Linked DNA regions of Homo sapiens: regions 1, 2, 3, 4, 5 and 7 are each linked to region 6. Evidence: promoter capture Hi-C in 16 types of primary human blood cells and fetal thymus (Javierre and others, 2016). All regions are on one chromosome and are shown on one strand. The core of a region is centred on a gene start or on the middle of the fragment in contact, and the rest is flanking DNA. Distances in the headings are between cores, read along the strand shown.

Region 1 (4,210 bases), core at 830-3,329, 280 kb after region 6:
AAATAAGGAATGGCTCCCTTGTGACAAAGTGAGTTCCCTGTTATAAGCAGTATGCTAGGAGGGAGTAGATAACCTGAGATGTAGCAGAACGCAGAGGCTGGACTACACAACGCCTAATGCTCAATTCATTCATTCCTTAAAAGGAAAAACATCATTTGCATTTTATAGGGAAAAGTATATGTTACCCTAATATCTCCCTGGTGTTGAGGCATAGAGAAACCATTTTGGCCATTTTAAGGACTTGAGTTTGAAAGAGTAAAAATGATATGTCAGAAATATGATTTCTTTCCATATTCTTGCTAAGGGTTTAGGTCTACTTTCCCCTGAGTTCATGCCAATAGAGCTTATGTCTAAACAGCAGCTTTCTGGAAGCGTCATCTACATGCTGCTCCTTTTCTCATTTCTACCTCCCACCTCATTCAGAGTTCATCCCCTCACCTGCCTACAATGCTCTTTCTCATTTGTATTAGAGTCTAAAACTCCATGAAGGTGACTGTCGTCTGGAGTTATGCCTGGGGTCCTGGTGTAATTTATTAATAGCGCCCCAGATTTGGAAACAAATTGTAGTACTTGGGCCACGTTACCTCTCTCCTCAGTGGTCAGCTACTGCCTCACCATCCTGCCTTCACTCAACTTCTACCGTCTTCCTTGGGGACATCCACTTCCGCCCTGATGGCAGTCGGGCCTCACAAGCGGTTGATCACCTGCCCCTCCTTTCTGCCCCTGTCACTCAGTGGGTGCTGTCTTGCCTCACACCTCATATCACTGTTCAGTAGATGTTGGAGGGGCAGGGTTTGTTCCAAGCTCTAATTCCTGTATATTCTCTTCCATGAGCACAGCTTTCCTCTCTCCCTCTTCTCTTCCTTTACGCTCAGCAAGTCTGCCCTTGACCATTCTCATTGCCTCAGTTCTTGTCCTTGTTCTCTGCTTCCAGGCTGCCCAGCTTGTCTTGGTCCCACTTGTTTGTAAATCCATTCTAGCACTTCTGCCAGTGTTTCTGTGCCATTCTGATTCACTGTGTCTGCCTCTCCCACTAGACTCTGAGCTTGGGAGCCCCACAAGGACATGATGGTTTTCTTTTCTCCCCTGGATTCATCTCCTGTCCTGCACATTTTAGAAGTCTAGCCCAGCCATTGGCATTTTTTTTTAAAATTCCCAGGTGATTCTAAGTGTGCAGCCAGGTTTGAGAGCCATTTTAGGTTCTCAGTAAATAAACTGAGGCCAGGCGCTGTGGCTCACGCCTGTAATTCCAGCACTTTGGGAGGCCGAGGCAGGCAGATCACCTGAGTTCAGGAGTTCAAGACCAGCCTGGCCAACATGATGAAACCTCATCTCTACTAAAAATACAAAAAAATTAACCAGGCGTGGTGGCAGGTGCCTGTAATCCCAGCTACTTGGGGAGGCTGGCGCAGGAGAATCGCTTGAACCTGGGAGACAGAGGTTGCAGTGAGCCGAGATCATGCCATTGCACTCCAGCCTGGGCAACAGAGCCAGCCTCTGTCTCAAATAAACAAACAAATAAATAGAATTTGCTGCTATTTTATACTTTCGAAAGCACAGCCCTCATACAAGTCTCTTCATCTCTGCCATCAAAAGACTAGTTCTTTTGTCTGGTTTGTTGAAGAGGACTTATTTTCACTTCTCATTTTGCTGTTAAAATTATTCCTATTTCCCTTAAATTAGCTTGTATTGCTGGGGGAAAAAAATGCCTTGCTTCTCTGTAAATCTCTATCCCACTCCAGGCATCCTGACCCTGTGCCCACTTTCTGTCTTATAGCAGACTCTTTTCTTTGGCTATTTTTCTTGTTTTTTTTTTTTTTTTTTTTTTCTACTTCTGCTAGTAGCACTAAATCACACTGGCAGTTTTCTCTTTTGACTGTACTTATCTCATCCATGGACCTTGTGTTTATTCTTGTACCAATCAGAACAATTAGACATATTGTGTTCTCCCTTCATGCTTCCCTTCTCTTCTTTGAATTATGCAATGAGTAGCACTGTTAGTGTTTTCCTTAAGAAGCAGAATATAGATGGGCCATCCAAGCCAGTCATCACCAAGGGGAAATATGAGACATACAATGTCATTATGTACCATTTTCTCCCGTAGGGGTGTATGGGATCTAAAGTTATTCTGGGCCGGGCTCGGTGGCTCACACCTATAATCCCAGCACTTTGGGAGGCCAAGGTGGGCGAATCACCTGAGTCCAGGAATTCGAGACCAGCCTGGCCAACATGGTGAAACCCTGTCTCTACTAAAAATATAAAAATTAGCCGGGTGTGGCAGTACATGCCTGTAATCCCAGCTACTTGGGAGGCTGAGGCAGGAGAATTGCTTGAACCAGGGAGGCGGAGGTTGCAGTGAGCCGAGATCACGCCACTGCACTCCAGCCTGGGCGACAGAGTGAGACTGCGTCTCAAAACAAAAGCAAAAACAAAAACAAACAAAAAAACCACAAAAAAAACCAAAGTTATTCTGGATGGGCTTTTGCTCATTAACATTTTCTATATTGTTTTTCTCACATGTGAAGCAAAAAAGGTTCTTGGGTTATTATTTGCATAAGACTAAGATGAAGCATGGATTTACACTGTTTAGAAAGTTTGAGCCCAGGTGTGGTAGCTCGCACCTGTAATCCCAGCACTTTGGGAGGCCGAGGCAGATGGATCCCTTGAGCCCAGGAGTTCAAGACCAGCCTGGGCAGCACGGCGAAACCCCATCTCTACTAAAAATATGAAAAATTAGCCAGGCATGGTGGCATGTGCCTGTAGTCCAAGCTACTCAGGAGGCTGATGTGGGAGGATCTCTTGAACCCAAGAAGTCAAGGCTGCAGTGAGCCGAGATCATGCCACTGCACTCCAGCCTAGACAATGAGAGTGTGACTCTGTCTCCCTGCAAAAAAAGATAGTTTTTTTTTGAATGCCTTTTGTGGGCATAGTTCTGTATCAGATGACCTGAAATGAATGTGGAAGGAAGACCAGTCCTCAGCTAAGCAAACCATTCACACATGTAAAGATTTCAGATTATTGCAAAAACTGTTAATGGTTCTCTCCTCTTTTGGTACTAGAGCACTCATTTGATCCCTGTTACCCAAAGGACCTTGCGTAATATTGTATGTCTGTCTTTCCCATACATCTCTAAGCTCCCTGGGGTTAGAGATCATGTTCTCTGCATCTGCATGTTTAAGGTTTGGTGCTTACAGAGCTTAAATATATTTTGCATTTAATAGATGTTTATTGAATTGAATATCATTAATTGCAAATTAACACTGTACTGAGCATTAGAGAAAAGATAAGGCATTCATCATAGTCAGTTTCTTAAAGGTGAGTTTCAAGTTGAGTTTTGAAGAAACCTAATTCCAAGAGTTAGGGTCAAAGAAATTCTACTCCCAGCTTCCTTCATAAGTTTTTCTGTTATCATTGATAATGTTTGTAACATCCTAGGGTCAGAAGAACCTCAGGAGCCACCAAATCCTGCCACCACTCCTGTTCATAAATCCCTTCTTTGAAGACTGATGCTAGTATTCAGGGGGTGATGTGACATGGGCAGGACCAGACTATCTACTTGGACTTCTCAATGTCATTTTTCCAGAAAGATAAGCATCCTTTCATGTTGAAAGACTTTTGGACCCTTGTTTTGTTCTGGGTAAATCTGAACTTGATACTTCAAGGGTCTTTGGTTTTTTTTGTTGTTAGTTGGGGCTAGAATTTATAGTCTGTGACTAAGGACTGATTTCCAAAATCTGCACTCTCTTCCCTAAGGAAGACCCTAAGGGGTCAGCTTATCTTTGTAACAGATACCACTGGGGCAGTGGAAGGTGGTGATGAATTACTTGCTACCTGAGGTGGGCCTTATGCTAACTTATAGAGAATTCCCACGAGTTTAGGCAGATAGAGGCCATCCTGTTCTACAGTAATTCAAGTATTGGACTGGAGGAGATCGCAGAACTCTCAGGGCTAGAAAGAGTCTGCATTGATTCTACAAATACTTATTATATGAGGCATTGTGTACATGGCTGGGGGTATAATGGTGAAAAGTCAGATGTGCTCCTCACCTTGCTGGAATGTATGATCTAACAAGGTACAAATGAGCCATACAAGCCATGGCTCTCCCAGGGCCCTACAGCAAGGCCTTAGGCCAGCTGCACATCTGGTACTTGAGCCCTTTTCTAATCCCACTGGTGTCGTGGAGACCATGGGTTCTCCATGGGCCCTGAAC
Region 2 (3,877 bases), core at 282-2,781, 260 kb after region 6:
TATTCAGGGGAGTGACAGGGAACTTAGCACAGTTCCCTTAGCACAAGTGTGACTTGGGAGATCATCGTGGCTGCCTGCGCTCGCTCTCGCAGGGCTGGGAAGCCTTGGCAGGGTGGAGGATGCAGGGAAGGGGAAGAGATTGCAGGTGCATAGAGTGGGAGTAGGCCCAGGGTCCCGCCGACTGTGGCCATTACTGAGAGGGTGGAGACTGTGGTGTCACCTGGCCCTACCCCTCCCCCAGGGCTTGTCCATAAGGTGATCAGTAAGATTTGCCTTTGTTATCAAGAGGTTACCTCTAAGACATGGCTTTAGAGATTGTGTGTTTTAAGAGCCAAATCCAAACATGTCAGGGAACTAATGACCCAAGAAGTTAACTAGCTTGCCACAGGTCAGGAGTTTTAGGGAGAAAGCTGGTCCTCTCATGGACTCCATATAACAGTGGTATGGAGTATATAATGCTTTCTGGAACAGCAAATCATTCCCTGTTTTGCAGATCACCCAAGAACTCGTCCATCTTTTTACCTGTAAAGTATTCTCCCCTGAAGTTATTTCAGTATGTCTCTGTAGGTGTTGAACATGGCAGGAGGAAATGAGGGGAAGAATGCTTCCCTTGTTGTTTTCTGCAAATGAGGCAGAAGTGATTCTTTTCTGTCTCTTTCAGATTGCTTTCTGACACACAGTGCATTTCCTATTTTTAATCAGACCTGTAACCAAACAAGCGGAATAAGGAAGTTGTTAAATGGGTGTGAAGCACAATACGAATGCTGTAATAATTAGCACAGATAATTTGGTTTTAGAAATACTGGGAAAGGGCTAGAGTGCTTTTTTCCCCCTTGATGATAAAGCAACCAGAGAATTAAATAACTGCTATTCTTTGCAGTGGGAGGGAGCGGGGGACTCACTAGCCTGTTTTTGTTTTGTCTTTGGAAGAGAGGGAGCCTCTTTTTAGTTGAAAACCTGGTATGTCAATAATATTTAATGAGGTCTGAGAAAAGACACACATCTGTTTCTATTTTGACATATTATACTCCAGTCCTTCCATTTGAATACATATCATAATGAGAACACATTCATCTTGATGATTTTGTTCCTAACCTCCCAGCCTGAGATCCAGTCTGATAAAAATTAATGTGATTTTTCTAATGACCTTAGTCAGAAAGGGAGTATCTATCGGTCCCATCCACATGGTACAGATAAATGAACAGGTAGATGTGGCAAGCTGCTTTCAAGAGTGTTGTGAAGGTTACATCCCATTTCTCTGGTTTCATAGATTAACGTATTTGAAAGCAATTTAGAAACTGAAGCAGCGCACTGCTATTAATATTATATTTGCAAAACATGACGTTGTCATCTCTGCTGTACACTTGGTCTGTTGACCTGACTTTCACATTGATCCAACTCCTCAGGCCTAGAGTTCTCATATCACCATTTTGACACTTGGTCCTCCTAGTCCCACCCTGCTCCCACCCACAAGCCTTTCTCTATCCCTGCCACTTCCTGCCCTGCAGAGCTAAGCACAGGCTTGAGTTGTTCTGTATCTGTCCAGGCCAGGTGAGCAAGGACCAGGCTTCCTCCATCCTTCTTTCTCTATCACCCACCATAGCACCCGGTCTGGAGGAGAGCCCTGGGGTAGTGAAGGATGGAGGGATGTTTCCCCCCACTCCAGTGTCCCCTACCCACTTCATCCCTAGCACCTCAGCCCCTTCTTTTTGTCATTCTCTAACACTGCTGTGCTCACTTACCCTTCTGCACCAATCAAAATCTTTAGTAACTTTCTTTTTCTTTATTGTAAAATCCAGATAGATGATCCTAGCACTCCTTCACCCGTCCTGACCTCAGTCTGTCTTGGTGGCCTTGGTCCATGTGGCTGTTCTGCAGGTACCCCCCGTATATCCCCCTCCTGCTTATGTGTCCTCACTAACTTGACTCAGACCATGTTCCTGATGCCCGAGATGCCCTCTGCCTACCCACATTGCTATTTTTTGTTTGTTTTGCTTTATTTTGTTTTTGAGACAGGGTCTCACTCTGTCGCCCAGGCTGGAGTGCAATCGTGTGATCTCGGCTCACTGCAACTTCCACCTCCCAGGTTCGTGCGATTCTCCCACCTCAGCCTCCTGAGTAGCTGGGATTACAGGTGTGTGCCTGTACAGTAAATCATGCCTGGCTAATTTTTGTATTTCTAGTAGAGACGGGGTTTTACCATGTTGCTCAGGCTGGTCTTGAACTCCTGACCTCAAGTGATCCACGCGCCTCAGCCTCCCAAAGTGCTGTGATTACAGGCGTGAGCCACTGCAGCCGGCCTAGCCACTGCACCCGGCTTCCAGTTTGCTGGGTTTTTTTGGATAGCTAATCACACAGCCAGTCTTAACTCATGCTGCTTGGGCCCATTTTAGAGCTTGCTGCTTAAGAAAATCCTTTGTGCTCTATCATTTTGCTTTTATTATTTTTTTATACAACCTGCTGGGAAATCAAATCTCTTGCTATCCTGTGCTTGTGCAGATTTTTACTTTTATTTCCATAAAATGCCTGCCAGCCTTAACCTAGCATTCCAGTTTGCCGGAAGCGGTGTGTTCAGATGACAAGTGCCATGTAGGCTACCAGCTCCCAGAACCAGGGTTTGAATCCCAGCTCCACTGTTCCTGGCTGTGTCTTTTCGGGCATGTTGCTTACCCCCTCTGAGTCTGAGTTTCCTCAGCCATAAAGCAAGGGCCATAAAGCTGACCTCACAGGGCTGCTGCGAGGATTTACTCTGGCAGGGAGGAGTCTGTCAGTGGCACCCATAATTCTAGGAATTGTCACCCAACCCTGGCTGCTCTTTCTTGGGCCCTGGAAGTGGGAATGGAAGGGCTGTTGTGTCTGAGCCCAGTTTGCTGCTGAGGCTGGAATGCCATGACGTTAAGTAGGTTAAAATGGTGAAAAATCCACCTAAAATAGTTAAGTGTTCACAGTGGAGGAGATTTTAGCAAGAATTTGGAAAGAAAACATGCCATAAATATTTTGCTTGCTGAAAGTGGGAAGAATGGAGTCGGAGCCTGTAAAACCCTGCTGACATTATAGAAGATTGTTACTCTTCCTCTAAGTTAGGAATCGCCCAGAAGTTCATTGAGATGATTGTATACTATTGCTATTATAAAATGAATGGTTTCACCATGATCTGTTTAATATGCATTCTGATACGCATATTTATTGGATGTAGGAGTTGAGGTGAAAGACCTGAACTGCTGTTCTCTAAATTCTGTGTTCGCCGTAGAGGTTCCTGATAGACCCCGAATTCCTCTGACATTTACTTTGGTATCATTGAAGGTGGTTTCCCTTTGCCCTGCTTTTCTGTGCTGTAGCAGGAGTCACAGAGCAGGCTTTGCCCTCATTTTTAGCCCCAGATTGTCAGTTCATGTGGCTTTCTAGAAAATGAGTCAGACACCTTTAGTGGGTGTGTATAAGCCCTCTGCAGTTCCTGAAATAATGTGCAAAGACCCAAACTATTTCTGTATGTCCCTGGAAGCCAGGAGGAAATGTGGCAACCTGAATGGTTTGTTTTCTAGTTTATTTATAAAGAATTCTTGTGAATTTAGGAACATTTCCACTCGTGCAGAACACACCTGTGTTTAGCTTTTATTTCCAGTCACTCAAAAATAACTCCCGTGTCTGTGTTCCTGCCACCCCCATCCCTGCCTTCCTGATTTGTGCTCAGAGTGTGTTTGAAAAGGTTCCGAAGCTTCTGGGTCTCATCCCAACTGGAGAAGCTTCCTGGAGAAGGGCTGAGGGCAGCTTGGCAGGAGCTATGCCAGGGCTCAGCTGCAAGGGTGAGATGGCCATTGGAAGGTGTCCCACGCTGTGGCCGCTGCCGCTTGGGGCAGAATGAGCCCAGCTGTGGAGA
Region 3 (3,956 bases), core at 1,415-3,914, 340 kb after region 6:
CGTCTCTGTCAACACCACCTTCTTTCCCTTCTCCCTCTCACCTCTTCACACCCCACCCCAACACCCCTCTTATACCCACGACCTGTTTAGTTGGCTCTTAGTATCTCTATATTTTGTTTTTCAATCCTACCTCCTCTATCTTCTCTGTAAATCCTTCATCATTTTTGTCTTCCTTCCAAATTCTTCCCAACTTTTCAAGGTCTAGAGAGCCTTGTGACTTCCAGAATTACAGAAAGGTTTAAATTACCATCTCTTGTCCCACCTTTGGTCCATACATCCCATGCCTGAGAGTTCGTATGTATTTGGGGGATGTGGTGAGGATATATCATCTTCACTGCCTTCAGACTACACAGTTGTTCATTCATTCAACAACTCTTTATAGACATCTATCCCCTATGGGCTCGGCACTGTGCCAGGTACCAAAGATACAACTGGAATGAAAAGCACATGGTCACTGCCTGCAGGAAGCTTACGGCACAATGACTTGAAGTTTGGCATTTTATATGAAGTGATTTCATTTGCAGACTTAAAACAAAAGGATATATTTGTGCTTTAAAGTATAAATATTATATTCTCTTCATTCCCATTCATCCCTACTTGGATGTGTACATTGAATTCCTATTTACTCTTCTTCAGTTAGCACCTGTGGATTTTTCATAGGCAAGTGGAGGCTTAGTGGATATGGGCGTATTCCTCAAAGGCCACTGGGGGAAATGATGGAGGAAATGCACCAGTCATGATTCCCCAGCCTGGGGCCTCTGACCCTAGCTGAAGTTCTTTATGTTTATAGGACTCAAAGAGCAAGCTTTGATTGGCAGCTCATGAACCCTAGGTTGTAATGGAGGGAACTGGCTTTTTGAATAAAATCTCAAAATGAAAGGATTCAGGCATGGTATGGTGGCTAAGCGTTAAGCCTAGATTAATAAGAAGGCTTGGTGGTGGGGGAAACGTTATTCTAGGTAATTGGATTTTCAGATTAAATGAAGATTAACAAATAAAACCTGTTAAATTGAAAAATTTGCTTAAAAATTCCCTAAAATGCATTAGGTTTCTGCCTTAAGTAAACAGAAGAAAACATACGATATTTTTGGGTATAATTTTTCTATAATGACGCCAAGTGGTGATTTTAAATGGGACTGTTTTTCTACCACCAGGGTAGAAAGCATAGAGATGAAGCTGAAGATGAGCTTGCTCAAAGAGATCTGTGGAAGATTCTTCATTATAAAGGATTCCTTGCTATAGGAACTCTTATTTTAATTTGCTTTGTTCTAAAATAGGGAAATTCTAGCCCAGTGATCATCTATGACCAAGTGAATTCCAGTGAATTGGTCCAGAATTTTTTTTTTTTTTCCAGACAGGGTCCCACTCTTTTGTCCAGGCTGGAGTGCAGTGGTGCAATGTCAATGGCTCACTGCACCCTCGACCTCCGGGGCTCAAGTGATCCTTCCACCTCAGCCTCCCGAGTAGCTGGGACTCCAGGTGCACACCACCATGCCTGGCCAATTTTTGTATTTTTCGTAGAGATAGAGTTTCGCCATGTTGCCCAGGCTGGTCCCAAATTCCTGGGCTCAAGAGATCCTCCCGCCTCATAATCCCCGTGTTGGGATTACGGTCGTGAGCCACTGTGTCTGGCCTCATCTGGCTTTTTTATCTTTATAGTGATCTTCACAGTGAGGCAGAAAGAACAGGGGTGTCGTCCTATATTTTACCAAAAGATGCTGCCATTCTGTAAATATACTATAGCCATACAGACTCCAAAATGAATGTTGACTGTCAGCAATAATGAGGGCAGAGATTTAGCAGCAGGTACCAAAGGAGATATGAGCTTGTTGCACTAGCGAGCAGGGCTGTGCTCTCAAGCTGAGGAAACACTGGTCACTGGACCACAAGCCTGGTGAGCCCTTATCCCTGGAAATGGTTTTCTCTCAGACACATCCTTTAGGGCACTTCCGTATGCAGCAGATTTAGTGATCATGGAAAAGGTCAAGGAAAAGGAAGAGGAGGGAATGGAGGAGAGGCAGATTAGAGCAGCCTCTTGTTGACCTGTGTGTTCTTCCCTGGTAGACTGTCAGCCCTGTGAGGGCAGGCATCCTGTGTGGCATGTCACTAAGTCTGCAGTACAAGCTCACTGCAGCTTTTGCACATGGTAGCAAATGTTTAGAGGAAGGAGCAGGAAAGGATGGACGATGGATGCTTGCAAGGATGAAGTGATTGATGGACATCAGTGGCAAGATCCCTGGTTTAGGAAACCTTGCTTCTTAGTCGCAGTTCTGCCACTAATCAGCTATGTGACTTGAGCGCGTGCATAACAGCACACTTTTTTGCCTCACAGGGTTATCGTGAGAAGACAAAATAGCAGTGTCGAGTGCTTTTAAAGCATACAGCATTATATTAACGAAAGTGGTGTCAGCTAAGGTGTAATTCTGACAAAAGCATTTTCTTTTGGCTTTATCAGTCATCCCTTTCAAGCCCTGATATCTTCGACTCCCCAAGTCCCGAAGAGGATAAGGAGGAACACATTTCACTTGCGCACAGAGGAGTGGACGCGTCAAAGAAAACTTCCAAGACTGTTACCATATCCCAAGTGAGTCACCAGCCATGGCGAGGGTGTCCCTGTCATTTCATGCATGTGCTAATGATGGGTTATAAACCAAACAAAGATACACAAACAGTGCAGGTGTTTGTCATTCTTCAGTGACAGCGATTCTGTTACTCATCAAAATCCCCAAGGCATGTTGCAGTCTCCGAAACTAGGCAGAATCCCTGAGATACAAGTTCAGTTGTTTATTTCCCATGTTGTTCTCTTGTGGTTTGATCTCCTCTTCATACCATCACACACACGTTCACAAATACCTTCACACACTACCACCATCACCACAACCAGAACAATTTAAAAAGCCGTGAGACGTCTAGAGAGAAGACATTAAATATATTAAATGCTGTGCCCTCTGCCCACAGATCTTGTCTTTTATGTTCAAAGCTGGTCACAAATTATAGTTGGAAGATCATAAATATAAATAACTAATGTGGTCTCTTAAAGAAAATTGATTTGGAGTCACATTCTATGATAAATTTATAGTCTAAAAACACTTTAATTTTATTCCATGCCCAGAGAGTAGTATAGATACTTTATTAGTTTATGAGAAACAAGGAAGACATTTAACTTTTAGCTACTGCATGTAACTTTTGAGGAGCATCTTGTACAAATTCTCTCCCTGTGAATACGAACCAAGATTTTAAAATTCCATTTTCTCCCACTAAGAAAACCAAGTCAATTGGAATTATTTTCTCTGAATATTAGCAACTTCTTTCTGTCTAAAAGCAGAAAACTATAGTCACTTGAAGCAGGAATAGCACAAAGAAATCAAAGGTTACCGTGGAATTTTCCTTCTCCATAGATTTAAGAATTTACATGTATAGATTTTCTTAAAAATCTGATACAGTAAGCAAAACGTGATCCTATACAACAGATCAGTTGTAATTATTCACAAAACCAAAGCATTCTTTCTTTATAAAAGGATTCCATCTGCAGAAGTTGGATTTAGACCCGTTTTTTCTGGTGACCATAGGTATAGTTTCATTTGACATCCCTGGGGTGTCTCTACAGTGACATCTACTGGTGGACAGTGGGTTTTCGTGGTTCTGATGTACACAGTTGTATCCCATTAGCCTATTTCTCTTCCCCGGAGTTGTCATGTTGTGCTCTTCAGTGCTTCTAGAAATTCCACTTGAACTAATTTGATCAGGGAGGGTGGTGGCCTATACTCTGTGAGGGCTTTAAAATTGCTCAGTAGCCGAAATGGGCCGGGAGAGCGTGTCATATAGGAAATGCCAAGAGAAGCATTGATTCAAGAAGTGTCTGGAAGTCAGTCAGTGCAAAGGCACTGGTGGGTCACAGGAGTATGGGAGGTCCGCAAGGATGCAGGATGGGCAACAGGAAAAGGCATAAGCCCAGG
Region 4 (4,227 bases), core at 992-3,491, 320 kb after region 6:
GTCTGATGAGCTAGTGTGGAAATATTGGGGGTATTGATGGGGGGGCGGGTTCACCTATAGAAGCTTTTCATGCTGTGGAAACTAAGCACAGTTGCATATATTTGGGAGCCCAGAAATAGAGTACTGAGGTTTGGTTTTCTCTCTCTCTTTGCCACAGAGACATTAATCCTAGAAGGCTATATCTTCTCAAGTTAATGGTATTTTTGTTTTGAGATAGTCTTGCTCTGTCACCCAGGCTGGAGTGCAACAGTGCAATCATTGCTCACTGCAGCCTCTAACTCCTGGGCTCATGCAATCCTCCCACCTCAGCCCAGGAGAATCGCTTGAACCCGGGAGACAAAGGTTGCAGTGAGCCGAGATCACACCACTGTACTCCAGCCTGGGGAACAAGAGCAAAACTCCATCTTAAAAAAAAAAAAAAAGGTCTCCAAAACCTAGTAATCATTTTGTAATGTAAAACGTCCCCTTAGGGTGTTAAATGTGTGTATTGTTGTACACCATTTTAAAAAATCAAGGTCCACCTGGACTTTGATCTGTAGCTGATTACAACCCTGGTGAAACAATAATCCCAAAGCGTTAGAAAGGATTAAGAGTGTTTTGTAAGCATGTTTGGGGTAGAACATGCCTTTATAACTTTTAATCCTCGTTGAGGTACAGTGTGAGTACAGGAGCTGTGTGTGGAATATCCTTGTGTTAGAATCATTCTGCTAATATAGTGGAGAACAAACCCTCCCCCTTCATCTCCCCTCTTCCATCGTCCTGAGGTTCTAGTGTTGAAATAAGAGCAGTGAGAGCAAGCAAGAGTAAGGAAAGAAAGAACTAATATTCACTGGGTGCCCACTAAATGTTTTGTCTATTTTTTTCTCACCGTCCATAGCCCTATGAAGGATGTGTAATGACTCATGTTTTTACAGTGAAGGAACAGGGAAGAAAGCAAGCTGGGGAAACTGAGCAAGATTATCTGGCTAGTAAGAAATTGGAGTTGAAGGCCAGGCGCGGTGGCTTACACCTGTAATCCCAGCGCTTTGGGAGGCCAAGGCGGGCAGATCACCTGAGGTCAGGAGTTCGAGACCAGCCTGGCCAACATGGTGAAACCCTGTCTCTACTAAAAATACAGAAATTAGCTGGGTGTGGTGGTAGGCGCCTGTAATCCCAGCTACTTGGGAGGCTGAGGCAGGAGAATCGCTTGAACCCGGGAGGCGGAGGTTGCAGTGAGCCAAGATTGCACCACTGCACTCCAGCCTGGGGGACAAGAGCGAGACTTCGCCTCAAAAAAAAAAAAAAAAAAAAAAAAAAATTGGAGTTGAAGCCAGGTCTCTCTGACCCATGAGCCCAAACCTTCTAGGTCCACATCAGCATTTCTCAACTGCTCTCCCCAAGGGGACATTTGGCAATGTCTGGAGACATTTTTGACTGTCACATCATAGGGGTGGGGGTGGAGATGCTACTGGCATCTAGTGGATAGAGGCCAAGGATGCTGCTAACCATCCACCAGTGTGTAGGATAGCCCCCACAGACAACAAAGAATGACCCAGCCCCAAATGTCAATAGCACCGAGGCCCAGAGAGCCCAGTCTGTGTTAGGAACAGGAAGAGGACAGGCTTCCCCTGCAAGTGCAACTTGTGTTCCCTGGAGTGGCCTGTCTCATTTCCTGAGAATCTCTATAAAACCTAGTTTGAAAATATTTCATATACAAAAAAGTAATTATATTTGAAGTAATTAAACATCAACCAAGGACATGACTGTGACCTTTGTGAGAGAGAAAGAGGAAGGGGGGGGAGAGAGAGAGAGAGGCGAGAGAAGAGAGGGGAGAGGGGCCATCTTAAGGCTTGCAGCAAGTGAAATGATACCATTTGAGTCTGATTTCAAATAGAAAGAGTATTGGATTTGTGATTAGATATTTGCCAAAGATCAACTACCCAGTGTTTAAACGGGTATTACATAAAAGGACAATAACAAATTTGATCAATACTAAGTTCTAAATCTGTACTCTGTATGGTAAAGTTATACAGGAGAGCAAGAGAGAGCAATTGTAATAGCGACCATTAACACAACATTTTTGTGAATGTGACACCAAATGTCTACAAACAAGTGATTACATTCTTACCTTATTTTGCAATTTCTACCTTTCATGATAATAAATCACTTCTAAGGGTTTCTCATACAAATTTTGAGGAAAAATTCAGATCTCCTGACTTGGGGCTATTGGTTTTTCTGTCCTGTTTTTAAAATACATATTTTAAACTTCCCCTTTTGGAGCCAGAGAGCCAGTTATTGGTCCTTGCAGCATGTCAGATCATTGAGCAATTGCTCAGGTTCAATAAAACAAGATATACTGTGTCCTGCCTGCCATTAAAAAAAAACAAAAACCCATGAATGACACTTGGAGTGTTCCAGATTGACTACTGGCTGAGCGTGTGTGTGAACAACAGCCGCGCCTTCCAGCTCTCTCGGGATTAGTTGCTCAGACATGAGAACTTTCACTGAAGAGCCACGGCTGGCTCCTACAGACACTGTCTCCTTACTGGCAACCTTCAGACACAGCCTTTGGGACCAAGGACATGGTTGATGTTACCTGTGCTGAAGAACAGGAGATACGGTTGCTACTGGTCTACAGTCAAGTCTGCATATGACGGGCTGCGGTGCCCATGTGTGGACGTGTGCAGCTCCGGTCCCTATCTAGGGACACAAATCGTGATCAAACTTAAATTTTTGTCAGGAGTAGCTGAAAAGCACTATACATTTCTCAAGTGTGATGACAGAAAGCAAAAGAGATTGTGCTGAGGGTCAAACGCTTTATACAAAGGAAGTGAAACAGGTTGCGCTTCTGATTGATGGGTTTTTAACCCAGGCAATCCTCTGAGCATTTTGGGTTCCTTCCTCGAACTTACAGAGGCGTAGCTAATTCAGAACAGCTTCTGTGGATGGCCTTCTCCCTGCATCGCCCTTGAGCCCTCCCCTGGTTCCCAGCCTCTCAGGCTCACAGTGGAGGTGTGCTGCTGAGGAAACAAGGTCAAGTTGGCAACCAGCACTCATTTCGAAAGGCATCCTCCAGTCCTACAGGAGATGGTCCTTCAGGGCCCTTTGAAGGGCCTGATCTTGGGTGTAAAATGAGCATCTCCACTTAGACTTTCTCAGTCAAAGATGTTGATCCTCACCAGAACCGAGGTGCTCACCTCTGCCTGTGCACCTTGCACAGGGCGGTCCTGCTGGCCTTTGGTGGTCCATCACGGTGGCTGGGTTTGTGCTTAGTTATGAGGGTCTTCACGAACATCTTTTACCCCATAACATCCCATAAGCGCAAACTCAGTAAACATTGAAAGTGCCTGTAGGAAAAGCCTCACAAATGCTATAGAAACAGGGGGAGATTACGTCAAAGTGGGGACATGATGGCAAATGTTGCAGAACCTCACTGCAGCAGTGCATTTGGTGGTATGAATTATTCCAATATACAGAGAGCAAATTAGTACTGTCCTACCCAAGTGCTCTATACCCACCAGCCTGCAAAATAGCTGACCTGAGAGAGGTGGAGGGACATTTAGGGAGCATCAATTCAGATGGCTGTTGGCTTGGAGAGGGTCACAGAGGCTAGTAGCTGTGTGGACTTGCAGGCAGCCCCAAATGCTCACCTATGTGCAGAGTCAGCATGTCCTGCCTCCCCTGGTAATGTGGTCGCCTGCATCTCTGTGGCCAGCGCTCTCGTTCATCATTCAGTCTGATGGCTTGAGTGCCTCTATGTTTGCTACATGCTGAGACCGTATTCTAGTGCCGTATTCTGGAGGTACTGGGTGTACCTACAGATTTAAGAATGCAAATCTGGAGGTACACCCAGTGGATTCAAAGTAGTCTCATAGAACAAAGAGACTTATATAGTGACCTTTGCTGCATCCACAGTATACACCACAGAGGTCTCTGAACTGAAAATGAATGTGGAAGCAAGGGAACAGGTGATGTTCAGCTCTCAGATCTCACATGGCATTTATTTGGCTTGAGGTGCCCCCCTCCCCCTGTCCCCTGGCTGTGGGCTCATGGATTGGCAGAGCCCAGTTATGGCTTCCGTTTTACTTGCAAATATCCAGAGGAATGTACAGTCTACCAGAAAATTGTGCTCAGGCATCCCTTTGTCACATTAAAAGCATTATGGACACACGACATTTTATTAAGTATTTTGTTCTGGTATCACTTTATTAAGTAAATTATCAAAATCCTTATTTAGCCATGGACTCT
Region 5 (3,872 bases), core at 1,248-3,747, 500 kb after region 6:
ACTATCAGAATCTCCCAAAGAAAGAGTGCATTGAATTTTCATTCATTGTTTCTGGTATAAATATACGTATACATCTGTCAATGTGTGTATATGAATATGTGTGTATGACTAGCACTTCATTTTCTTTTAGCATTTTACTACCCTAATTGAAAATGACTTGTATCCTCCTCTTTGGAAGCCACCAATTAGCTTGGCAATACATAGCAAGAGGGGCTCTGATATGACAAGGAGTTATTTGAAGACATAAAACCCCCAACAATTTATCTCATAATTAGCTTCCCTGAGGAGGAAACAAACTCACAAAGAAACACATGTATAATTCATCCTTGCATATCACACTTCCCAAGTAATTGGCTTGGGGAGGCACGGATTTTGCATTGCAAAAGAATGCAGGGGTGTTTGGGGGATAATAAGGAAGGGGTCTCATTTTGGTTAGGAAATTCCCCCGCATATAATTGCTCTTTGCAAAACAGAGCAGTTCTGTAAGGAAATCTCAGCTGGTTGGTGCAGAACTCTGGGTCTGTGGTTGCTCAGCCTGGCAGGAGAGCCAGAGGGTTTCAGTCAACTTCCTGGCCTGGAGCCCTCCCTCCCTGTGTTCCTCTGAAGGGTTTGCCCCACACATAGGAACCTGCGAGAACAGGAGGAAGGGCTGTTATAGCCAGGGTCAGCCCTGCCTTTTTTTTTTTTTTTTTTTTAGCAGCCTTATCGAGGTATAGCTGACATATCATCAAAGCACCCATTAGAAGTACTCAATTCTTTGGTTTTCAGTAAATTTACTGAGTTGCTCAGCCATCACCACGATCCAGTGTCTGGACCTAGCAGACCCCGTGCCCCTTGGTACTCATCCCCATTCCCACTCCAGCCCCAGCTCATCACTCATCTGCTTTGTTGTGTTTGTGTGGCTTTGCCCGTTGTGGATATTCATATGCTTGGAATGAATACAATATGTGGGGTTTTGCATGTAGCTTCTTGCACGTTGAGTCCTGTTTTTGCAGTTCCTCCATGCAGTGGTGTGTATGGGTACTTCGTTGTTGTTCATGGCTGAATGGCATTCCATTGTGTGGAGAACCACATTTTGTTCATCCGTTTACCAGTTAACAGTCATTTGGGATTGTTTCTACTTTTTGGCCACTGCGAATAATGATGCTGTGAACATTCACATACAAAGCGTGTGTGAACATGTGTTTTCAGCCTTCTTGGGTAGATACCTAGAGGGAGAACTCGGGACAGGAAGTCTGTTCTCGTCTGGCTGCAAACATCGTTGGTTCAAATCCTGGCCCAACCACTTGCTAGCTGTGTGACCTTGGGCATATTACTTAACCTCCATGTGCCTCAGTTTCTTCGTAAGTAAAATAGAAATGCTCGTTGTACCTACTCATAGGGTTTTTATGAGGGTAAAGTGAGTTACTGATGAAGTGCTTTGACTGGTCCCTGGCACATAGCAAGTGCAATTGAAGTGTTTGCTAATTAAATACTCGCTTGTACTTAGAAGTCATGGGTTATTAGAGCTGGAAGGAGCCTTTGAGAGAACTGAGTTTGTGTGTGTAACTAACGTGTTGAACCCATTGGACTCAAAGGGTGTAATCACAAAAGCCACTGGATTTTTCTCTCCCACTTTTCATCCTGCCTGGGGCGGGAGTTCTTTCCTTTGACTTTTCCAGCCACCCTTACATAACAGAGAAAGTCATAATGACACTTGAAGGAGCGCACACAGTCTGAATTCAGGAATTAAAAAGGACTCATCGCTTGAAGCCGGGAGGCGGAGGTTGCATGAGCCGATTGTGCCACTGCACTCCAGCCTGGGTGACAGAGCAAGACCCTGTCTCAAAAAAAAAGATTCAGGCTGATACTGATCAACGCTCTGGTCCTCATTCAAAAGTCAGACCCCTCTCCCGTCTCCCTGCAGGCAGCGACCTGTGGTCAGGAGCTGGGTGTTGTCTTTTTCTCCCTAATCACCAGCTGCAGGAAGGAGAGGACAGGGGCAGGGAAAGTTGTTACTTGACTAGCACTGTTGGAAGCTGGCTTTGCGTGCTGTGGGCCTGGCTGATGTTTAGTTATCTTCCCTCGCTGGCTCCCTCTGGATGTAACTCCTGTGTCGTGGGCAGGGGCCTGTCCTTTGGCTGACAGCCCCCTCCTCCCAGTTATTTACCCCTTACATCACCTCCTCCTTCCATCTCTTTCTGTTGAGGGATTCAGATCGTGGAGGACTGCGTTTGAGCAGGAATTCCTTTTCTTTTTTCTTTATTTTTTTATTGGGCAGCCCCTGGAACCAGAATAGGTTCTGAGAGAGACTCCCAGGATTCCTTTTAAGAAGACCATATGCTGGGCACGCCTGTAATCCCAGCTCTCTGGGAGGCTGAGGTGGGAGGATCGCTTGAGCCCAGGAGTTTGAGACCAGCCTGGCCAACATAGTGAGGCCCCGTCTTTACCAAAAATATAAAAATCAGCTGGGTGTGGTGGTGCGCACTTGTAGTCTCAGCTACTCGGGAGGCTGAGGTGAGAGAATCACTTGAGCCCAGGAGAATGAGGCTGCAGTGAGTCATAATTGTGCCACTGCACTCCAGCCTGGGCGACAGAATGAGACCCTGTCAATCAGTCAATCAATCAAATAAATAATACAAATAAAAGATAAACCCTAAGGCAGTATTTCTGTAATAGGGTCCCCCATCTGGTGTCCAGAGTTCAAGCAGCTTCAGCCCACTGTTGAGAGGGTGTGGCAGTATCCCCACACCTTACAGCCCCCTGTCTGCTGCTGGAAGTTAACCTTTGCTCACTTGGGTGCCAGTCCACTGTGTAATTTACCTACAGGAACACATACACATGGAGCTGAGTCGCTCAGTGAAGCCCCCTTCAAAGGCTTTGGGTTAGGAACAAGTGGCGCCACCTTTCCACCAGGCTTATCCCTTGGTCAGGTCAACTAGGGTAGTCCCCTGGACTATGGGAAAATCGTACCTTACTTTTCTTTTCTGTACTTGATTAATATGAAATCTTGAAATTTAGGCTCTAACGGTATCTCCAAGGGCCTGTGGAAGATGTGATGATCATAAGTTGGTATTGAGTGGCTTGAGTTGCCCTGGGCCCACGCCCTTTTGGGGACAGTCCTGCCCCAAATCCTGTAACTTGGGAGAGGGTAGGCAGCCCAGCATAGCTCTCTCTAAAGAAGCTGTCTCAGCACCACCCCCCTAAACTACTCTGTCAACTCTCTCAGCCCCTTGATCAGATTAGAAGGTCCCTGGGCCTCGGTTATAAACTTGTGTCTTCTGCTGTGTGTCTTCTTTGCTGGTAATCTGAAAATCCTATTGGACAATTCTCCAGGAGTCCCCAGTGGATTTTGTGCCCTAGGGGGGCTGAGTCAGTGCCTGTGGGTCTCTTGGTCACCTTGTTCTGAACTCTGCACCACTGCACTGGTGTAGGTACCTAAGAGCCGTAGTGGGCTGTGACCAGTGACCAGTGTGGTAGGGCATACCTTGGAGGAAATATAGGTTAGGGAGCATATGGGGCCCCAAGAGAGCCAGATTTTTGTTTGTTTGTTTGTTTTGTTGAAATGGAGTCTTACTCTGTCGCCCAGGCTGGAGTGCAGTGGCGCGTTCATGGCTCAGTACAACCTCCACCACCCGGGTTCAAACGATTCTCCTGCCTCAGCCTCCCAAGTAGCTGGGACCACAGGCACACGCCACCATGCCCGGCTAATTTTTGTATTTTTAGTAGAGACGGGGTTTCACCATGTTGGCCAGGCTGGTCTTGAACTCCTGACCTCAAGCCATCCACCTGCTTCGGCCTCCCAAAGTGCTGAGATTCAGGTGTGAGCCACCGTGCCTGGCCTATGAGAGCCAGATTGAAGGAAACCCAATTTTCCAGGATTTGTGCGTGAT
Region 6 (4,082 bases), core at 1,359-3,858:
AAGACTTTTGACTCATCATTGTGAGAATGCACTGGGCAACCAGCCAAGAATCTTCAGCACTCCAGATAACAGTCCACTGCAAGGCCAGCACAACTGTTGCCATGTTGAAATGTACCCCATCACTTTCAGGGGTCTGAGGCTCTTTGAGAGAGGGTTAGGATGACCCACTGATACGGCCTTACCAAAGAGAACCACCTCTGGAATTGAGCAGACCCCCATACCAGTTCTTCTGGGGTTGGGGGAAAAAAAATGTCCCAGTAGCAGAGGGTTTATCCAGGCTCTGTGAGTTTCAGTGTTTGTCAACTCTAAGATGGTATCAGAAGGCTTGATTGCCCTGATTAGAACATGATATAACAAGACATGTAATGAGTGAGGCACCAGGGTGCCTGGAGGAGGAATATTTGAGTATTCATCATCCCTGCCTTCAACATTTCACATTCTTTTTTTTTTTTTTTTTTTTTGAGACGGAGTTTTTCGCTCTGTCGTCCAGGCTGGAGTATAGTGGCGCCATCTAGGCTCACTGCAACCTCCACCTCCCAGGTTCAAACAATTCTTGTGCCTCAGCCTCCCACGGAGTTAGGACTAAGGCATGCACCACCACGCCTGGCTAATTTTTGTATTTTTAGTAGAGAGAGGGGCTCGCCATGTTGGTCAGCCTGGTCTTGAACTCCTGACCTCAGGTGATCCGCCCACCTCGGCCTCTCAAGGTGCTGGGTTTACAGGCGTGAGCCACCGTGCCTGGCCCACTTCACATTCTTTTCTTTTCTTTTTTTCTGAGACGGAGTCTCGCTCTGTCGCCCAGTCTGGAGTGCAGTGGCACGATCTTGGCTCACTGCAAGCTCCACCTCCCGGGTTCACACCATTCTCTTGCCTCAGCCTCCGGAGTAGCTGGGACTACAGGCGCCCGTCACAACACCCAGCTAATTTTTTGTATTTTTTAGTAGAGACCGGGTTTCACCATGTTAGCCAGGATGGTCTCGATCTCCTGACCTCGTGATCCGCCCGCCTCGGCCTCCCAAAGTGCTGGGATTACAGGCGTGAGCCACCGCGCCCGGCCTTCACATTCTTAATCTCCGTGTTCTCTGATCCCTTTTTTAGGAGTCTGATATTGATGACACTAGGACTTCAATTGCAGCCTCTGTGTGGATGGGCCTCTTGTCCCTTGATTAGTCTCCTATTTCGATCGGTTTGACACACATGAACGGTATTTAGAAAGATGATGCTACTGATCTCTTGTTTGTAAGACCCTGACTTTGAGGTTTTTTGAAAAACTCATGAAACAGTTATAAGAACAATTTTCTACAGAAATCCCAGGACGGTAACCAATTTACAAGAGTTGCCCCGCCAACACAGGTGAGGTATGGAGACAGCCCCTCTCTTGGGTAGGGGGTCGGCTTTCATTTGTCCCTTTTGAGTCCACTAGCCCTCAGCCTCCTCCATTTCCAGGGGCCACTGATGTAATTTCTCTATTGTCTTACGTGCTCTTTGCCTAAATGTCTCCCATGTAGTTCACTATCGCTTCCTACCACCAGATGGTGGAAAGGGAAAAGGAAATAACGGGCCGGTAGAGGAATGTGGTGGCAGGCAGAGTATCTATGGCGAAAGGTGTGGTGGTGAATGGACCCAAAACGGAGCTTCTGAATTGCCCACGAATGCCCACGGATTCCCTGTTAACATTTTAGCGCCCACTCAAGGGTCGGCCGTCCAGGTCTGGGAGTCAGTAAGGCACAATAATGCCTGCTAGGGAGGGAGCCAGCCCTCATCTCAGCGGATTCCTGGGAACGTCAGAGCTCGGGAACATTCCTGAACACCCGAACCGCACCTGGCCCAGGCACTGGGGCGGGGCTTAGGCGGGTCCCAGCGAGGCGATGCGTCCCCTCGGCCCCGCTGCGTCCTTCGCCCGTTTTTCCCCACGTCAGTGCCACCGCCTCCTCTGTGCGGAACTCGCACCTGGCCTGCCTGCGTTCCCACGCCCCACCGAAGGGACGCCGCGTTTCTCTCCCTTCCAAGGGACCCTTTTCCTTCCCCTCCAACAGCCCCCCGGGAAAACTCATTCCAGATTGCCTCGATGCCCCAGGGCCACCTGCCATCACCCTGGTCAGGCGTTTGGCCCCGGGCCTGCCCTGGTCTCCATCCCCAGCCCGTCCTCCACCTCTTGTCGCCCCCTCCCGCTCAGCCCCCTTCTCCTCCTTCTCCACGTGCCCCTGCACTCCCACGCCCCTCCCCCAAGAAGCCCCTCTCCTCCGGTCTCGAGGAGTCTCGCGGCACTTCCCGGGGCGTCAGCCCAGCCGCTGCGGGTGGGTGGCAGCCGCGCGGAGAGGGGTGCCTCTGGCGCGGGCGGTGAGGAGGGCGCCCAAGCCCCTCAGCCGCAGGGACGCCCCCGGCGCCTGCCCCGACGCGGCCCCGGCCCCGGCCCCGCCCCTCTCCGGCCCCGCCCCCGCCCGGCGGCCGCGCGTCCCCGGCAGGCGGAGCTGCAGGAGCCTCGCGGCAGCGCTGAGGAGGAGGGGAGAGCGGGCGGCGCGGCCGCGGCTGCCGGGCGCTGGGCTGGGCGGCGCTGTTTTTTTTTTTTTTTTTTTTTTTTTTTTTTTTTTTTTTTTTTTTTTTTTCGCAATTTCCACTCGCGGGGAGCAGGAAACCCGGCGCAGCCGGGCGCATTGGGCCGCGATGCAACAGCAGCAGCAGGAGTCGCCCCGGGGCAGCAGCGGCAGCAGCAGCAGAGGCAGCAGCGGGCGGCGCTGAGCCGCCGCCGCCGCCACTGAGGAAGAAGCCGGCCCAGCCGCCGCCGCGTCCGGACCCTCGCGCCTGGATCCCAGCGCCCCGATCCCGGCGCCCCAACCCCCACGCCCGCCTCCGCCAACTTTCACGCTGCCTCGGCGGCCCGGCCCGGCTCGACGCCAATGGGTGAGTGGGGGCCGCCCGCGTCCGGGCGTCCACTTCAGCCTTGAGGGCGGCGCGCCAGTCCCAGAACCGCGGAGCCCGGGAGGGCGCCCCGGGGGCAGGGTCCGGACGGGGGACACCGCGGTGGGCGCCCTCGCCTGCCTCGCGCACCCCCATTCACTCCCACTTGCGCCCGTGTGCCCGCCGAGCCCGCGCGCGGCGCCGACGGGAACCCGCGGGGGCCTGAGCAGACGATCACGGGGGCTGGCCCCGGGCGGCTCGGGCTGAGGGATGCAGGGGGTGTGGTTGGTTTTTCGGGTGGGCGGGGAGAGTTTTGTCTTGGCCATTTTTGCACCCGAGCGCGCCCTCCTCTGCGCTGCGGACACGGGCACCCGGACCTGGTGGGCTCCGGCCCTGCGCGGGGCTGCTGGTGTCTTCCTGGTCCTGTCTCGGGGGAAGCTGGAACCTCGGGGTCTTGGAGGGGGCTGGGTTGCCTTTGCTGGGGGTTGACAGGGGTTGGGGGGTGGGGCGGGAAACGCCCCAGTTCCTGGTCTGGCTCGCAGTCCCGGGGTCCAGAGCACCTGACGCTCCTCTCCTTGCGCCCCCCTTCCTCCCGGCCCCGACCCTTTCGCTGCTGCCTTCCTCCAGCCTGGCGAGCTCTCTGCTCCGTGATGCTAAAAGGCCACTTCCCATACTGTCCTTTAAGTCTTCAGGGTCTGGGACCTGGAAATGGTGATCCGGTCTTTGATTTACTGAGTAAACATCAGTTCGAAGTAGCCAACTAACCTTTGAACCCCCTGGGTCCCATTTGATTTAGACCCCGGAGCATTGGAACCACCTTGCTGCCCAGAGAAGCTGCCACTTTATTGGCAAGGCACTTATGATTACTTGGGCTATTAAATGTTTGGTCTACCCAGGTAATGTTCTTGCTGACAGCCAGCTTCTGTTTTTCAGCCTCTGGCAGATTATTTTTGGATGTTCCTAGGCCAGGCATAGGAAGGCTGCAGATAATAATAAATCATAATAAAGTGAGACCTTTCTGTGTTCAGGTAATAGGATTCCAGTACACTAGTCAGGATGTTCAGAAAGCCTGAAGGATTGGAAAAGAGGAGGTTTAACCCAGTCCGTTGTTGACAGGCAAAGTTAAAATCCCATTTGTGGTCATTTGCCAAAAAAGGTTTTCCTTTTCTAAGTAGTGGTGATCT
Region 7 (4,286 bases), core at 1,207-3,706, 360 kb after region 6:
AAAATAAAGTTGTCATGGACATCTTTACGCATCAATCTATGTCCACATTTCTTTTTTCTTTTTTCTTTTCTTTTTATTTATTTATTTATTTTTGAGATGGGGTCTCACTCTGTCACCCAGGCTGGAGTGCATGCAGTGGTGCCATCTCGGCTCACTGCAACCTCCATCCCCCGAGCTCAAGGGATCCTCTCTCCTCAGCGTCCTAAGTAGCTGAGACCACAGATGCACGCCACCACACCTGGCTACATTTGTGTGTGTGTGTGTGTGTGTGTATTTTTGGTAGAGACAGGGTTTCACCGTGTTGCCCAGGCTGCTCTTGAACTCCTGAGCTCAAGCAATCCACCCACCTTGGCCTCCCAAAGTGCTGGGATTACAGGCGTGGGCCACCATGCCTGGCCTATGTCCACATTTCTGACCTATCCTTAAGATAATTCCAAAATGTGGAACGTGAGTATAAGTTGCCTGATATTTTTAGCAAAAATCATTTTTGGCCAATTATAAACTTAGTTAATTATTAACATTAGCATATACAAGTGACTAACCACCCATCTTTCCTTAAAGTTGCATTTGCCTAAATCCTGATGGGGGTCAGGTCTGGATCTCTTTTTCCCTGATTGGTCACTGCTCCAATGTCACCTCATCAGAGAGGCCCTCCCTACCCCTCTAAATAAAAGAGCAACTTTAGCCTTGACCCACCCCCAGAGTCCCCATATCAACACCTCCTTCATTTGTTTTCCCTTGCTTGCTTTGTTTCTGTTTTCAATCTCCCCTCCCTTAGAATGAAACCACTCTGAGGATAGTGACTTTTCTGTCACTGCTCTATCCCCAGCACCTAAAACATTGACAGATATATATTAATAGTAATCACTTGATATGTAGTTGACTGAATAGATGAATTGGTAATTGTGACTGATGTCAAATGCAATTTATTCTATACATTTGAGCAGCCCGGTTTGACCTTTACTAAAACTTTAGTACAAAACTGGGGCAGTAGGGAAGCTCCACAGCAAAAGAAACAGATACAAAGAAAGCCTTCAGAGCACTTTACTTCTATATGAGTCTCAGCCAACACCCGGACCCTAAGGAGAGTGCTTCTTGCATTACGATGGTTCTCAAAACCAAGTTCATGTCATCTGAACACCATTTTCTCTAAGACGTCCAGTCACTACTTAGAAACCTGTGGCTACCTCTGTTTTAGAAAGTAAAGTTTTTTTTTTTTTTTTCCTATACTCATTCTGGAGGAAAAAAAAGAAATGAATTCTGGGCTGAAAATGGTGGCTCAAGCCTGTAATCACAGCAATTTGGGAGGCCGAGGCAGGTGGATCACTTGAGGCTAGGAGTTCGAGACCAGCCTGGCCAATGTGGTGAAACCCCATCTTTCCTAAAAATAGAAAAATTAGCTGGGCATGGTGGCACATGCCTGTAATCCCAGCTCTTTGAGAGGCTGAGGCGAGTGGATTGCTTGAGGACAGGAGTTTGAGACCAGCCTGGCCAACAAGTCCTGTCTCTACTAAAAAATACAAAAATTAGCCCAGCATGGTGGCACACACCTGTAATTCCAGCTACTCAGGAGGCTGAGGCATGAGAATCACCTGAACTTGGGAGGTGGATGTTGCAGTGAGCTGAGATCATGCCACCGCACTCCAGCCTGGGTGACTTGCAGGCTGCACTCCAGCCTGGGTGACGGCAAGACTCTGTCTCAAAAAAAAAAAGGGAATTCTTTGCTGACTCTTGATTCTTCTCTGAGGTCAGCTGAGAACCTAATTGCTCCCTCTCAGGGCAAACCATCTGCCCTCAAAGTGATGAGTAAGTGGGAAAGGTAGATAAGCGCTGAGCTTCTAGGAAGAGCCATAGAGCAGTGGTTCTTAGAATGTGATCCCCAAAAGAACAGCATTAGTATCACCACTGGGGAACCTGGTAGAAATGAAAATTCTTGCGCCCTGTCCCAGACTTCCTGAATCAGAAATTCTGGAAAGCAACCCAACAATCTGTGTTTTAACAAGTCCTCTCAGTAATTCTGATGCACGCATAAGTTTGAAGACCACCATCATGGGGGGATCAACTCATTCCCAGTGAGTTGTGTGTAGAGTAGCTGACAGCAATCTTTTCCAGAAATCTCTAGTTGTCCTTGGCTGAAGCAAAACAAGGTGCACTACTCAGAAATAATGCCGTAGTCTATTTGGTTGAAACATGTGAAACTAACATTTTTTTTAGATCAAATATGGTTGAATAGATAGGACTTCCAGTTTCAGCTCAGAGATATGGAAGAGCTGCATGAAATCCCTTCCTGTGCTAACAACAAGAAAAAGTCTGGACAGACTGGAAATTAATAGAGAACTAAGTTCAAAGAGCAAATGGCCATTTGAAAATCTGGGCCAGGTGTGGTGGCTCACACCTGTAATCCCAGCAGTTTGGGAGGCCGAGGCGGGAGGATTGCTTCAGCCCATGAGTTCAAGATCAGCCTAGGCAACATGTCAAGGCCCCGTCTCTACAAAAGGGACAAAAAATAGCCAGGTGTAGTGTCGCCTGCCTGTGGTCCCAGCTACTTGAGAGACTGATGCAGGAGGATCACTTGAGCCTTGAGGCTGCAGTGAGCCGTGATCACACCACTGCATTTCAGCCTGGGTGACAGAGCATGACCCTGTCTCAAAAAAAAAAAAAAAAAAAAAAAAAAAAAGAGGCTAGGCACTTCCTGCAAGACACAGGATCTGAGCATTTGGTTACCAAGGGCAGAAACCACCAGATGCCATAGAACTAGGTAGAAAGGTCAGGCTAGAAAATTTGACCAATTTCTGGAAGCCAACTGTGGGCTAGCTTGAGAGTGTGCAGCTCCTAAGAAAGACTGTCATCCTTCTGCAGGCTTTTCCTCCAGGAACCCCACCTGGTTCTCACAGGGAAGATCAGGGGAAATCCAGAGAAAACTCATGGTGCTGGCTCAGGAACCACTGAGAAATCTACTCAGACCCTTCTCCCTTAAGGAACAAAAGGCTATTCTGCATGGGGAAAGACATGGTCCGAGGGCCCTGGTGAATTACCATTGCAACTAGGGGAGGGAACTGCACTCAACTCTAGCTCTTCATCTCAACTAAAAACAATTCAACCTTCAGAGAAAAGGGCTTCAAGTCTATAGACTGAAAACACTTGTAGATACCCACTGCAGCTGGGAGAAGGGAATGGGAGGGAGCTCTGTCCCTGGAGGAGAAACAGAAACAACTGTGAAAGTTACACCCGAGACACAAGCCCACTGTGCACTCCAAAGACTGAAGTTTAGAATATTAGAGAATCCATCTCCCAACAGCATGCTAACAAGCCTCCAGGAATAACAATAGCAGGGAAGACTGCAAGAGACAGACGTTGGGGAGCAGCACAAAGGGAAGCCCCAAAGCCAAGAGAGGTGGGGGACAAAAAAAGATCACTAGAGGAATCTGAAGTTTGTAATGTTCATAGGAAAACAAATCTCAACACAGCCCAACTCCTGGCTGGATCAACATAAAGTCCCACACTAAAGGTTTATTATCTTAGTATCTGCTGCCCTATATACAATGTCCACCTTTCAACAAAAAATTACAAGGCATGCCAAAAGAAAAGAAAAAGCATTCTGAAGAGACAAGTGATCAGATTCAGACTTAGATATGGCATTGCTATTAAAGTATCAGAGAGAGAATTTTATTTTATTTTATTTATTTTAGATGAAGTCTTGCTGTGTCACCCAGGCTGGAGTGCAATGATGTGATCTCGGCTCACTGCAATCTCTGCCTCCCAGGTTCAAGCAATTCTCCTGCCTCAGCCACCCGAGTAGCTGGGACTAAAGGTGCATGCCATCATGCCTGGCTAATTTTTCGTTTGTATTTTTAGTACAGACAGGGTTTCACCATTTTGGCCAGGCTAGTCTCGAACTGCTGACTGCAGGTGATTTGCCTGCCTCAGCCTCTCAAAGTGCTGGGATTACAGGCAGGAATTTTAAATAATTATGATCACTATGGTTTTAGTTTTAGTTTTTTTTTTTTTTTTTTTGATATAGTCTCACTCTGTAGCCCATGCTGGAGTGCAGTGGTGTGATCACGGCTGACTGCAGCCTCAACCTCCTGGACTCAAGTGATCCTCCTGCCTCAGCCTCCCAAGTAGCTGGGACTACAGGCATGCATCACCACAGCCAGCTAATTTTTTGTATTTTTTTGTAGAGATGGGGTTTTCCCATGCTGCCCAGGCTGGTCTCGAACTCCTGAGCTCAAGCGATCTGCCTGCCTCAGCCTCCCAAAGTGCTGTGATTACAGGTGTGAGTCACC

What was found. The method cuts DNA at HindIII sites, captures the fragments that hold promoters and counts their contacts. A CHiCAGO score of 5 or more calls a contact.
Region 1: a fragment that was not itself captured here is called in contact with the fragment with the promoter of SH3KBP1 in region 6 in 15 of 17 cell types (activated CD4 T cells, naive CD8 T cells, non-activated CD4 T cells and 12 more); the score reaches 23.4 in activated CD4 T cells.
Region 2: a contact is called between a fragment that was not itself captured here and the fragment with the promoter of SH3KBP1 in region 6, in 15 of 17 cell types (activated CD4 T cells, non-activated CD4 T cells, naive CD4 T cells and 12 more). The highest score is 20.7, in activated CD4 T cells.
Region 3: a contact is called between a fragment that was not itself captured here and the fragment with the promoter of SH3KBP1 in region 6, in 17 of 17 cell types (non-activated CD4 T cells, activated CD4 T cells, naive CD4 T cells and 14 more). The highest score is 18.8, in non-activated CD4 T cells.
Region 4: a fragment that was not itself captured here is called in contact with the fragment with the promoter of SH3KBP1 in region 6 in 16 of 17 cell types (activated CD4 T cells, naive CD4 T cells, non-activated CD4 T cells and 13 more); the score reaches 16.1 in activated CD4 T cells.
Region 5: a contact is called between a fragment that was not itself captured here and the fragment with the promoter of SH3KBP1 in region 6, in 4 of 17 cell types (total CD4 T cells, naive CD8 T cells, naive CD4 T cells and 1 more). The highest score is 6.6, in total CD4 T cells.
Region 7: a contact is called between a fragment that was not itself captured here and the fragment with the promoter of SH3KBP1 in region 6, in 6 of 17 cell types (non-activated CD4 T cells, total CD8 T cells, activated CD4 T cells and 3 more). The highest score is 7.9, in non-activated CD4 T cells.

Annotation. Positions count from the first base shown.
Region 1 is chrX:19,609,575-19,613,784 of GRCh38, reverse strand. All of the region lies in intron 8 of SH3KBP1 (SH3 domain containing kinase binding protein 1), which reads left to right. Among named protein-coding and RNA genes, the nearest start is that of MAP3K15, 96 kb to the right of the region's middle. The HindIII fragment of the contact is 5,933 bases long and covers 1-4,210 here.
Region 2 is chrX:19,627,239-19,631,115 of GRCh38, reverse strand. The region is part of intron 8 of SH3KBP1 (SH3 domain containing kinase binding protein 1); the gene reads left to right. Among named protein-coding and RNA genes, the nearest start is that of MAP3K15, 110 kb to the right of the region's middle. The HindIII fragment of the contact is 4,373 bases long and covers 1-3,717 here.
Region 3 is chrX:19,544,550-19,548,505 of GRCh38, reverse strand. It overlaps SH3KBP1 (SH3 domain containing kinase binding protein 1), which reads left to right. Exons shown (of 18, transcript NM_031892.3): 15 at 2,456-2,584. Among named protein-coding and RNA genes, the nearest start is that of MAP3K15, 31 kb to the right of the region's middle. The HindIII fragment of the contact is 3,713 bases long and covers 808-3,956 here.
Region 4 is chrX:19,562,122-19,566,348 of GRCh38, reverse strand. All of the region lies in intron 13 of SH3KBP1 (SH3 domain containing kinase binding protein 1), which reads left to right. Among named protein-coding and RNA genes, the nearest start is that of MAP3K15, 49 kb to the right of the region's middle. The HindIII fragment of the contact is 4,351 bases long and covers 66-4,227 here.
Region 5 is chrX:19,386,125-19,389,996 of GRCh38, reverse strand. All of the region lies in intron 18 of MAP3K15 (mitogen-activated protein kinase kinase kinase 15), which reads left to right. Among named protein-coding and RNA genes, the nearest start is that of PDHA1, 44 kb to the right of the region's middle. The HindIII fragment of the contact is 8,970 bases long and covers 1-3,872 here.
Region 6 is chrX:19,886,126-19,890,207 of GRCh38, reverse strand. It overlaps SH3KBP1 (SH3 domain containing kinase binding protein 1), which reads left to right and starts at 2,608. Exons shown (of 18, transcript NM_031892.3): 1 at 2,608-2,901. The coding sequence starts at 2,898. RefSeq lists silencers at 2,157-2,456, 2,517-2,586, 3,067-3,206. The HindIII fragment of the contact is 9,463 bases long and covers 1-4,082 here.
Region 7 is chrX:19,524,759-19,529,044 of GRCh38, reverse strand. No RefSeq gene overlaps it. Among named protein-coding and RNA genes, the nearest start is that of MAP3K15, 11 kb to the right of the region's middle. The HindIII fragment of the contact is 7,748 bases long and covers 1-4,286 here.